2 separate regions of the Homo sapiens genome follow, and region 1 is linked to region 2. The links are contacts of gene promoters, found by promoter capture Hi-C in blood cells and fetal thymus (Javierre and others, 2016). All regions are on one chromosome and are shown on one strand. The core of a region is centred on a gene start or on the middle of the fragment in contact, and the rest is flanking DNA. Distances in the headings are between cores, read along the strand shown.

Region 1 (5,065 bases), core at 1,882-4,381, 520 kb after region 2:
AGAATATTAACTAACATTCATAGAGCATGATCTGTCTTCTGGGCATTGTGATGAGCATTTCACGTACATCATCTTATTAAATCTTCACATCACCCCTATAAAGTAGATTTTACATAATGTAGAAAAGAGTTTTGAGGATTAAATATTTCAAATAATGAACCCAAGGTTACACATTAAGCAGCAAATCAGACCTCAAACTCAGCTCCTGTTAACTCCAAATCACCTCCCTGCTATAGATTCCTGTACCACATAGCTACCCTAAGTGACCTCTTTTTACTCATCCTGCAATTTACTCATCCTAATTACCTCTCTCCAGAGCTCATGATACAAAGAAGTTGTCTGATAAATAACTGGTAAAATAAGTACTGACATAGGTTATGTCTATATACAGTCATCCCTCAATATTCATGGGTTCTGCCTTTGTGAATTCAACCATTGTGGATCAAAAATATTCAGAAAGTAAATTTTACAAAGTTCCAAAAAGCAAAATTTGAATTTGCCTCGCTTGAGTACTACATTGAATTCATGTGCATGAAATGGTGGTAGGCATTGTATTAAGTATTATAAGTAATCTAGAGATGATTTAAAGTATACAGGAGGATGTGCATAGGTTATATGCAAACACTACACCATTTTAAATAAGGGACATGAGTATACTTGGATCGTGGTATTTATGAGGGTCCTAAAACCAATGCTCTGAGGATACTGAAGGACAACTGTATTGACTTTATTATTATCTCCACTTACTCTATTCTACTACCCAATATTCCCACCTGCAGATGGTGGAACTGAGATACAGCAATAAGTGTCTTCCTTGTGTACTACATTCAGTTATGCTAAAGCCAGCCCTAGACACAAGCCCTCTTAAGTCCTACTGTGTCATGGTTTTCCTACTGCATCACACTGCCAATATGTCAAAATACTCTTTAGTGTAAACGCAGGGGGAAAGTCTTTCCATCCAGTGTTGTTGAAGACAAGATGGTCTAATTATGGGGCTTAATTGGCATGCTCATTTGATTCTCCCAGCAAGTTACTTTTTGTAACTTAACTTCCAACAAGACTGGAGTTGATAACTGTTTCTCGACTTTCTCAGAATCTAAAGTGAAAGAAATGGTACTATTAATTGGGGATCCCACAGACACGCCAGCTCCTAGTTTCCATGACATTTTAGTTATTTGTAGTTTTTCTATTCCATTTATAGTCCCCAAAGTTCCCTTCGTATTTGAAACCAGTAAACAAAAACAAGTAAAAATCTCTAATAAAAATGCTTACTTTACAAATAGCATGAAGCAAAAAGGATAAAATGAAGCTCCTTCAAGCATAGTTAAACGGTTTTATTGCAATAGGAGGATTCTATGGCTCCTCCTAACTTGATTGGCAAAAATCCAAGATGTCATAGCATCTTATTCCCACACTTTGGAGATGCCTATCAGAGATGATATGCTGGATTCAAATAACCCTAGTGTTAGTTTGCTGTTCTACTAGTGCAGGGTATTTGTAGAAGAATCTACATGTCATGATATCTGGTAAAGCCTGAATAGTGTTTAGGGACAGATGTTCAACACACTGATACTTCTATAACAGATTTCTTTTCTAGACAATGGAAAGTTTCATAAAAGTAGGGATTATGTGTGTCTTGCTCACCATTGTATCCATAGGACATAGCCCAGTGACATAGTAAGCTTCCAGTGTAGGTTTGCTGAATGAATGAATGGATAGCTCTTTACCCATTCAAATTGTGATGCAATTGTATATTTATCGATACAGAGGAACGTGTGCGAAATAATTAAGATACAGAATAATATTATGTCTGAATTTAAATATATATTCATGTTTAGGTAAAACTGATGATATATAAAAAACAAAATCTGAATGACCAACTTTTTGGCTTTTTCTAAATTAGTCTTGCAATGACTGGCACTGAAAAGAGAAACTTTAACCATTTAAATCTTTCCTATATCTAAAAGCACACAACATGAGATTTTATTTAAAACACATGTGCACACATACATAAACACACACAGACACACATATTCACTTTTTAAAATCTTACCTCATTAACAACAACAGCAACAAAAGCAAATAACCTGATTGAAAAATGGGTAAGGGACTTAAATAGACATTTATCCAAAGAAGAGACACAAATGGCAAATAAGTATATGGAAAGATGTTCAATATCACTGAGCATTGAGGAAATGCAAATTAAAACCACAATGACATATCACTTCAATAAGGATGGCTACTATTTTAAAAATTACAATAGTAATAAGCTTGGGCTATGATGTGATAAATTGGAACCCTTGTACACTAATGACGAGAATGTAAAATGGTGCAGATGATATGGAAAACAGTATTGTATTTTCTTAAAAAAGTAAAAACAGAATTACCATATGATCCAGCAATTCCAGCTCTTGCTATACATACAAAAGAAATAAAAGCAGGGTCTTGAAGATACATTTGTACACCCACGTTCCTAGCAGCATTAATCACAATAGGCAAGAGTCGAAAGCAACCCAGTATTCATTCAATGAATGGATACACTAAATGTGGTATATACACACAACAAAACATTATCCAGACTTAAAAAGAAAGGAAGTTCTGACACATGCCACAACATGGATAAGCCTCAAGGACATTATGCTAAGTGAAATAAGCCAGTCACAAAAAGACTGTTTAAATCCAGTAACATGAGGTACCTAGGGTAGTCACATTCATGGAAAAAGAAATTAGAATGCTGGTTCCCAGGAGCCACAGATGTTGGAAGGAAATGGAGAAGTTGTTTAATGGTAATAGAGTTTCAGTTCTGCAAGATGAAAAAGTCCAGGAGATTAGTTGAGCAACAATGTAGATAGTCAAGCAACAATGTAAATAAACTTAGCACTACTGTACTATATATTTCAAAATGGTTAAGATGTTAAATTTTATGCTTTGTGTATTTTACCACAATTTTCTTTTTCTGAGACAGAATCTTGCTCTGTTACCGAGGCTGGAGTGCAGTGGTGCAATCATGGTTCACTATAGCCTGGACCTCCCCACTCAAGAGATCCTCCCACCTCAGCCTCCAGAGCATCTGGGACTATAGGTGTGCACCCCACATCCAGACAATTTTTGAAATTTCTTTTAGAGATGAGATCTCATTATGTTGCCCCCAGGCTGGTCTCAAACTCCTGGGCTAAAGTGATCCTCTCATATTGGCCTTTCAAAGTACTGGGCTTACAGATGTGAGCCACCACACCTGGCCTACATTTTTTTTAAAGTTTGCTTATGCAGTTTTCGCACATTCTGTGGCTTATTAGTTATCTCCTTTTTCCTGTAACTACGTCTACTGTAGTTGAACCCTCTCAAATCACTATTTCTTTATTTTTTATACCTCCATTTGGTGTGGGCAGAGAAAGAGTTTGAGAAGTGTAGTCTAAGGTAGCTTTTCAGAAGATCTGCCTAGAGTAATAAGTTACCATTCATTGAGTCCTTATTCCTCACCAGGCACTGCGTAATTGCTTTTTATATATTATCTAATGTAATTTACCTATGAGTTCTATGAGATCATTTTACAGAAGATGAAATGAGATTTAGGGATGTTAGGTAATTTTCTTTAAGCCACACAATTAGTTTGTGGATGTAGATGGGAATCTGTCTCAGATCTTCATGCAGCTATGCACAATACAGCAAATTTGATGAAACTTTAGAAATAAACATTTGGCCTTCCACACCCCCCTCAAAAAAAAACTTACCCCAACTTCTTTTTTTCCTTTCAATCTCTCAGATGCGTGAAAGCTCATCTGAGAGAAAACTCATTTGTAATAAAATATTCGAATCCCACAGAGTGGGGTACGATTATGCTCATTCTTATCTTGTTACTATCCTCTGTTGGTTCTAATCCTCTGGGTATTCCCAGAAGATACCGTGTGGGGCTTTACCTGATAATTAGAGTTAAAACATGGTTTGTAGTGCACATTCAGGTATAGAAACGTAAGGCAGAAAATGAAGCTTTGTTCTGACATTGTCACACGAGGCTAAAGCAGGGCCTTAACCCACACACATTCCCCGCAGCATTTCTCTGCCCTAGTGATTATCTTTCCTCTTTTTTTCCTGACCAAATATCTCAAAATTCTATAGCCCAGTGATCTTCCTTATTTGTCTCCCTGAAGGTGCTCTTGCGCCCTACAACTGCTCTCCTGACTGTAGCTAGAATTATCTTTCACATTCTCTCTTCCACAATGTGCCGAAACTCAATGCTGCTTAAAACTGTCTTACATTTTCTTAAGCCCCCTAATGTAGAGATCGCAATCTTTAAAGAGCAGAGCCTTTAGTCATCATTTGCTTTTCTGCCTCTCAAGTTTTATCTCAATTTTTTTCCTCTCTTTCCTCAAGTTCTTCAAATATACTTTACATCTTTCCAATGAAGGCTTTGCGCATGCTATTACCCCCGCCTAGAAAGGTTTTCACTTTCAGATCTCAGCTGGGATAACAGTTTCTCAGGGAAGTCCCCTTCTACCTTCAGGGAACATCAGCTAGCCATATAAATCATGATGTGGATACATATTTAATTTACTGATATGAAAGAGGAACATGAGTAGGATACAAATACTCTACCACGATAGCTTTTCAATCCACAGCACTTCTTCCTAGCCCTTACCGCCTTAAATAATTATCATTTATATATGTAGGATTATTTGACCAATGCCTCTCTTCTTCTACTAGACTGTAAGCTCATTGAGGACAGAGACTTTGGCTAGTTCCTGTTCACCAGAACATGGCTGTTTTTGTGTATGTTGGTAGCTGTAATAAATTTTTGACTTAATAAAGGCTAAAATGACCTCAATAAAATCTCTGATTTGTTCATGTAAACTTTTCTCCTCTTGTAGCCTTTTCTTAGCTTCTTATCTGCTTCAGATTTCTTAAACATTATTATAATTAGTTCTAAATTACTAAAATCCTTCCCTCCATCATGTCTTCCTGCCCAGTCTTCAGTGAGCTCACCTGCTTGTTCCATTCACACACCCACCTTGTTATGCTCTTTTAGAGAAAAATCACAAACCAAGCAGGTCAGCAACCCTATAAATTT
Region 2 (5,220 bases), core at 133-2,632:
ACAAAATCTTCATTATGTATTTGATGGAACCAATATCCTTGAAATAACATAAATTCCAAGCTTTAGGTACCTTTGACGTATAGGGGATAAAAGAAAGGGAACAGTCAATCAGATGCTAAGTTCTCTTAGTTTTACTTTTCTTGTTTCTCTCCAGTGCAAATAGCAAGCAATACACATAGCAAGTGCTGAATAAGTGCTTTTGGAATGTGTATTCTAATTTCTGAACCTTTCCTTATGCTTCCAAAAATGCTGAGAGACGTTCAAGCTTTTGGTAGAGAGAAGAGATGAACTGTTGACTTGGATGTGGGGGGACATTTGAGGACTCCACCCCTATTTCCAAGCACTGAGGCAAGCCAAACTATTCTAATATAAAGTTATGGCTGGCAAGCTATATTAAGTTTATTCACTCAATAAATCCAGTGCTTCTACAATAAAAGAAAGGAAGAAACACTTGGAACACTCAAAGGTTAGAGGGGGGAAATTACTGACAGTTTCATGTACCTCTTTGGGCAAAGGGTCAGTTATGGGGATTTGAGGTGCTCAGAAAATAGTCTGTGTACTGGAAGTCATAAAACGGAATCAGGTTTATCTAAGTTGGAGTCAGGGCTCTGACACAGTACCCTTGGGCAAATCATCTCTCTGGGCTTCAGTGTTCTCATTTTACAAATAATGCCTAATTCTCAGGGCTGTATCTCGAGAATCAAACACATTTCCTAGAGTCCTGCAGTAACAACGATGACTAAAATTTATTGGTATGTCTTTTACGCACCAAGCACTTTTCTTTACTCATTTAATATTCATTATTCTGCAAGACAGTTACTAGCTCATTTACAGATGAGGACACAGAGAAATTACGTAATTTGTCCAAGGACACAAGGCTAACAAGTAGTAACGTATACGGAAAAGCCAACACTGTATTAATACTGTCACACTGGGAAGGGGGAACAGCTTGGGGAAAGATTTTGTGAGGGAGTCTCCAGGAGGGGACCGGCTGAACGTGGGTCAGACTCACAAACACCGTGGCCTTGGCCGCTTTGCGCAGCCGCAGGTACTTCAGCCGGTACTTCTCATTCTGGCTCTTCTTCGGGAGCTTTTTCATCCTGGCCTTGCTGGACTGCAGCGGAGCCCGCGGCGAGGAAGCGAGGCCGTCCAGCAGGCTCATGGTCCAGCCCCGCTACGGGGGCCCCAGGACGCTGCCGGCATCGGATCCTAAGTCGGGGAGCGGGCGGGAGCGCTGGCTTTGTCTGTTCCGGGCTAGCGGAATCGGGCCTCTAGGAATCTAGCTCTCCGGGACGTTCCCAGGGCTGACCGCAGGGCCAGAGACACCCGCAACCGAACGGGCTCCCGGCGCCTCCCAGCACTTCCGTGTCTGTCTTGGAAGTAAGCCCTTCCCGGAAGTTACGTCCCGGTGTCGGCAGTGTGTAACTTCCGGGGCAGGGAGAGTAGGGTGGTCTGGGCGGTGCGATCGTGGGCACCGGGAGGAAAGAGACAGCTGGGGGCTAGTGCTGGATGAGGAGAGGAGGGAGGGCCGGCGGCCGTGTGCTTAGCTGAAGGGTACTATAGTTGAACCAACGAACTAACAAGAAGCTTACCAATGCGAGCTCTCATTCACGCTCCCCCGCTGGGCCACTGCGTTTTAATACGTTTTTCATGCTTCGTGCAGACAGGCTTTCCCAGACTGTAGGACAAAGTGAGCCCAAGTGCTGGGACTCTGCTTCTTTCCCTGCTTCGTTCCTTTCTGCAGCTCACAGAAATGTGTTTGCAGGGCCTCCTAATGCTATCATCTTCCCAGGAGCTGGGAACACAGTAGTGAACAGGAAGAAAGGCCTTGGCTCTTTCTAGTAGGGAAGATGAGAGATTTAACACGCAGTTTTAATACTAGCACTAAGTAGGCACTCAGTAAATGTTTGTCTAGTGAAACCAGAAGTGTATTTCTGTACATAATATGTACATGTATATGGTTCTAACTTTACAACCAAGGTCTATTTAAAATTAGGGAAGATAGAAAAATCTTTAGGGTGCGGTATTGGTAAGTGACCCAGGCTGGATGGCAGAAGGCTTGCTTGCATCTTCTTCCAGCGATGCCAATAACTAGTTCAGTAACTCTCTAGTTTTTTCTCTCAAAAAAAAAATTTGCTGTTCTGCTGTATTTTGTCCTTGCGGGCTTTGGGGTCTGACTTTATTTGTATTATTTATTTTCATATACATGTATCACATCTAGGGGGAAGAAAAGTGCTATCCTTTGTCCTAGTTTGCAGGCTGTTTTGGCCAATGGACTTTAGTGGGATTTGCATGAAGATATTTTTTGTTTCTTCTTCATTGGACACATTTCCTTACACTTACAAAACATTTCATTCGAACTTTAGAAATTTAGAAAATATAGTACAAGAAAGGTTTAAAAATCCATAATGCTACCACTTGGAATGAACTACTTTTACCATGTTAGTATATGTGTCTAATATTTTATGCATTTTTGTATAGGTTAGACAATACTGAAAATAAAGTTTTCTTTTTGTTCATTTACCATTGTATCATTTCAGTTTCACAAATGTTAGTATAGCTTCCTTATAAGCATAATTTTAAGTGGCTGGTTAATATTCCAGTTATGGCTATATTATATTTTGCATAATTATTTCCATGTTCTTTGACTTTTTGGTCAATTCCATTAAAAGCATATCTTTGCGTCCAAAGCTTTTTCCATATAGGACTGTTCAGAGGCTGGATATGTGTGCTCCACAAAGGTCATGCCACTGAGCAACTCATTCAGTCCTTATTTGTTTAGAAGAATATTTACCTAGTGCCTATTATGATACCACCTTTAAGAACCTTAATTTAAGAAGGAAAGACAGACAAGTAAATTGGCAATGTTAATATGGTATAATAAGTTTGTTTCAGAGGTAGGTTTTATTTTATTTGGCAGCACTCAGGGAAGGAGGGAGGAGATAGGAAAGGTTTCTTAAAGGAGATACATCTGGGCAGACTCTGAAGGAGAGGTAGTGGTTGGTTGGCCCAGTGAAGAACAAAGGGGGGCATGCTGGATGGTGGAGACAGCATATGCAAAGGCTCAGTATGGGAACTGCAAGTAGTTGATCAGTGTGAAAGATGTGTGTAGAGAGAAGCAAGAAGAGAGACTGAAGCAGTAAGTAGGGTTTTTTGGGTCATGAAAAGTCTTGTGTACCAACTGAAGAGTTGGACTTTGACCCAGTGACAATAGGAAACCATCTATCAGCTCTTTGCTTGTGTTAGGTAAACTTACCTGAATCTGTCAGAAGCAACACAACTTTTCTACTTAACTATACGAAGAAGGGTCTAAATGGCCTATGCAAAAATTCTTTAAAGAAATGCATAATGTGTAGCTCTAAAAAGAAATATAAAATGGCAGACAGCATGATATTGTGTCTGAGTGTGGTCTTTGAAGTCAGACCAAAGTTCCATTAACTACAGGCATAGGAATGGGAGTTAGAAGCTAAAATAGGGTAATAAATCAGAAGAGAAAGAAGTTCAATAGCACTTTACTGTCTACCCATTTGTAAGTGCTTGCTATTCAGTGATTAGCTGTAAGGGAAGGCATAGTATCCTCTGGAGTATTAAAAGCATACCTGGCTCCGTTAACAGTTGTGAAGAAGTCCATAGCCCATAATCCCAGCCCCTGGTGAAATGAGTTCCTGGTTTAGATGGTGAAAAGTGTATCTGGGCACCTGAAGGCTCCACTCACGGCTGAGACATGGCCCCAGCCTTGTTCTACTATGTCCTTACATCCTAAGAGCAGATTACAAATTGAAGCCATCATCTCCCAGCACTTTGGAGGCTACAGAGGACTTGGACAAGGTTGATAACTTCTACAAAGCAAGCTGGGTAAATTCCTAGGATTTCAGGCCACACCAAAGGGTTTCCAGGGGTTTACATCTTTATTAATCTTTTGCCAGATTGCCTCACTTGCTCTCTGGGGTAAGCTGAATGTGCGTTCAAGAAAGGATATGGAATTGCCTCCATAAACGGACTTTAGAATCTTCTTTCCTTGCAGCATGTCTAGACTGTATTTCTTTTTATTTATACTATCCTCATAGAATGTTCTAGACTTAATTTTTTAGCTCTTTGACTCTTCGGCTCCAGCTTTCACATTTATTTCCATGTCTTGGTTATGTCTTCTCACTTTTAGGATAACATGATAAAAGATATATGATTCAGTTAAATCCAAGCTTAGCAGTTTTAAAATGTGTAATTTTTTGGTGTGTATGTGTATTAGTGTGCATGTCTTATGAGGAAGGAGAGAGACTTTCCACAAGCTTTCTTGCTCCATGGTTTCTTAACTATGGGTGTTCATCACATGCCGAGTTGGTGAGGTGTTTGGGTTTTGAGGGTTCTAAGCCAGCCAATAAAGTCATAAAATCAACTACTGTGTCAATATTGTGCTTCTGGGTGGTTGTATCCTTCAACACACATAAGACACTCAGCCAGCTAAAAGAGATGAGCTCAGAGATGTTAGCTCGGAGGAAAAGAAGGATCACATTGAGGTCATTGATGGGACATCCTAGCATCTTTCTGCTGAGGAGATCAAAAGCTGGGAGCATCTCATAGACAGATAAAAGTCGTTTGTCCCACCGACATAGCCGTGTGAGGTTGTATATTATCACTGGAACCAATATGGTGTATATTGCTACACTGGAGAGGCTAACAATCTGGAAAATGGACAGTGATGTCAGCCTGCATGTGATCAGATTGGGGACATGGGTCTCATCACTTAGCAGCCCTGTCTTGATGGAGCAGCTGAATTCTTCCTGGAAGAAGACATCCAGATGGAAATGACCAAGGTATAGGTAAGTGGCGGAGGTGAAGATGAGCAAGAGGGAGTTCCTCAGGAGGTAGGTAGCCACTAGCGAATGTGAACGCTGCTTACATGCCAGGTACCGCTCTAGCAAAGGGAATTCAAAGTATCGTTCTTTCCGAGCCCTGGGCAGTGGAAGGAAGGAGGCAAGGTTAGTAGTGACCATTTAGAACCATACTCTAAGAGAGGCATGTGACAAAGTAACAGATCTGTTTTCAACATGGCATTCTTGGTTCCCATGAAAATCTGTCTTCCCGAGCATAACCATGCTTCTCCCCCAAACTGAGGCATATGAGTATATCTTGATTCTCCAAGTACTTACTGCAATGTGATAAACCCAGTGAATGATCAGTGAGTAATGATTTATTACACTGGATTTCTGCCAAGCAAGGCGG

What was found. Contacts are between HindIII fragments. The CHiCAGO score rates a contact against its expected background, and 5 or more counts as called.
Region 1: a fragment that was not itself captured here is called in contact with the fragment with the promoter of TBRG1 in region 2 in 3 of 17 cell types (erythroblasts, total B cells and naive B cells); the score reaches 7.7 in erythroblasts.

Annotation. Positions count from the first base shown.
Region 1 is chr11:124,099,684-124,104,748 of GRCh38, reverse strand. No RefSeq gene overlaps it. Among named protein-coding and RNA genes, the nearest start is that of VWA5A, 13 kb to the left of the region's middle. The HindIII fragment of the contact is 1,717 bases long and covers 2,273-3,989 here.
Region 2 is chr11:124,619,026-124,624,245 of GRCh38, reverse strand. TBRG1 (transforming growth factor beta regulator 1) reads right to left here and starts at 1,382. Exons shown (of 9, transcript NM_032811.3): 1 at 1,013-1,382. The coding sequence starts at 1,162. LOC124902779 (a long non-coding RNA gene) reads left to right here and starts at 1,045. Exons shown (of 2, transcript XR_007062932.1): 1 at 1,045-5,220. PANX3 (pannexin 3) reads right to left here. Exons shown (of 4, transcript NM_052959.3): 4 at 3,890-4,950. The coding sequence ends at 4,311. RefSeq lists an enhancer at 1,236-1,305. The HindIII fragment of the contact is 1,322 bases long and covers 268-1,589 here.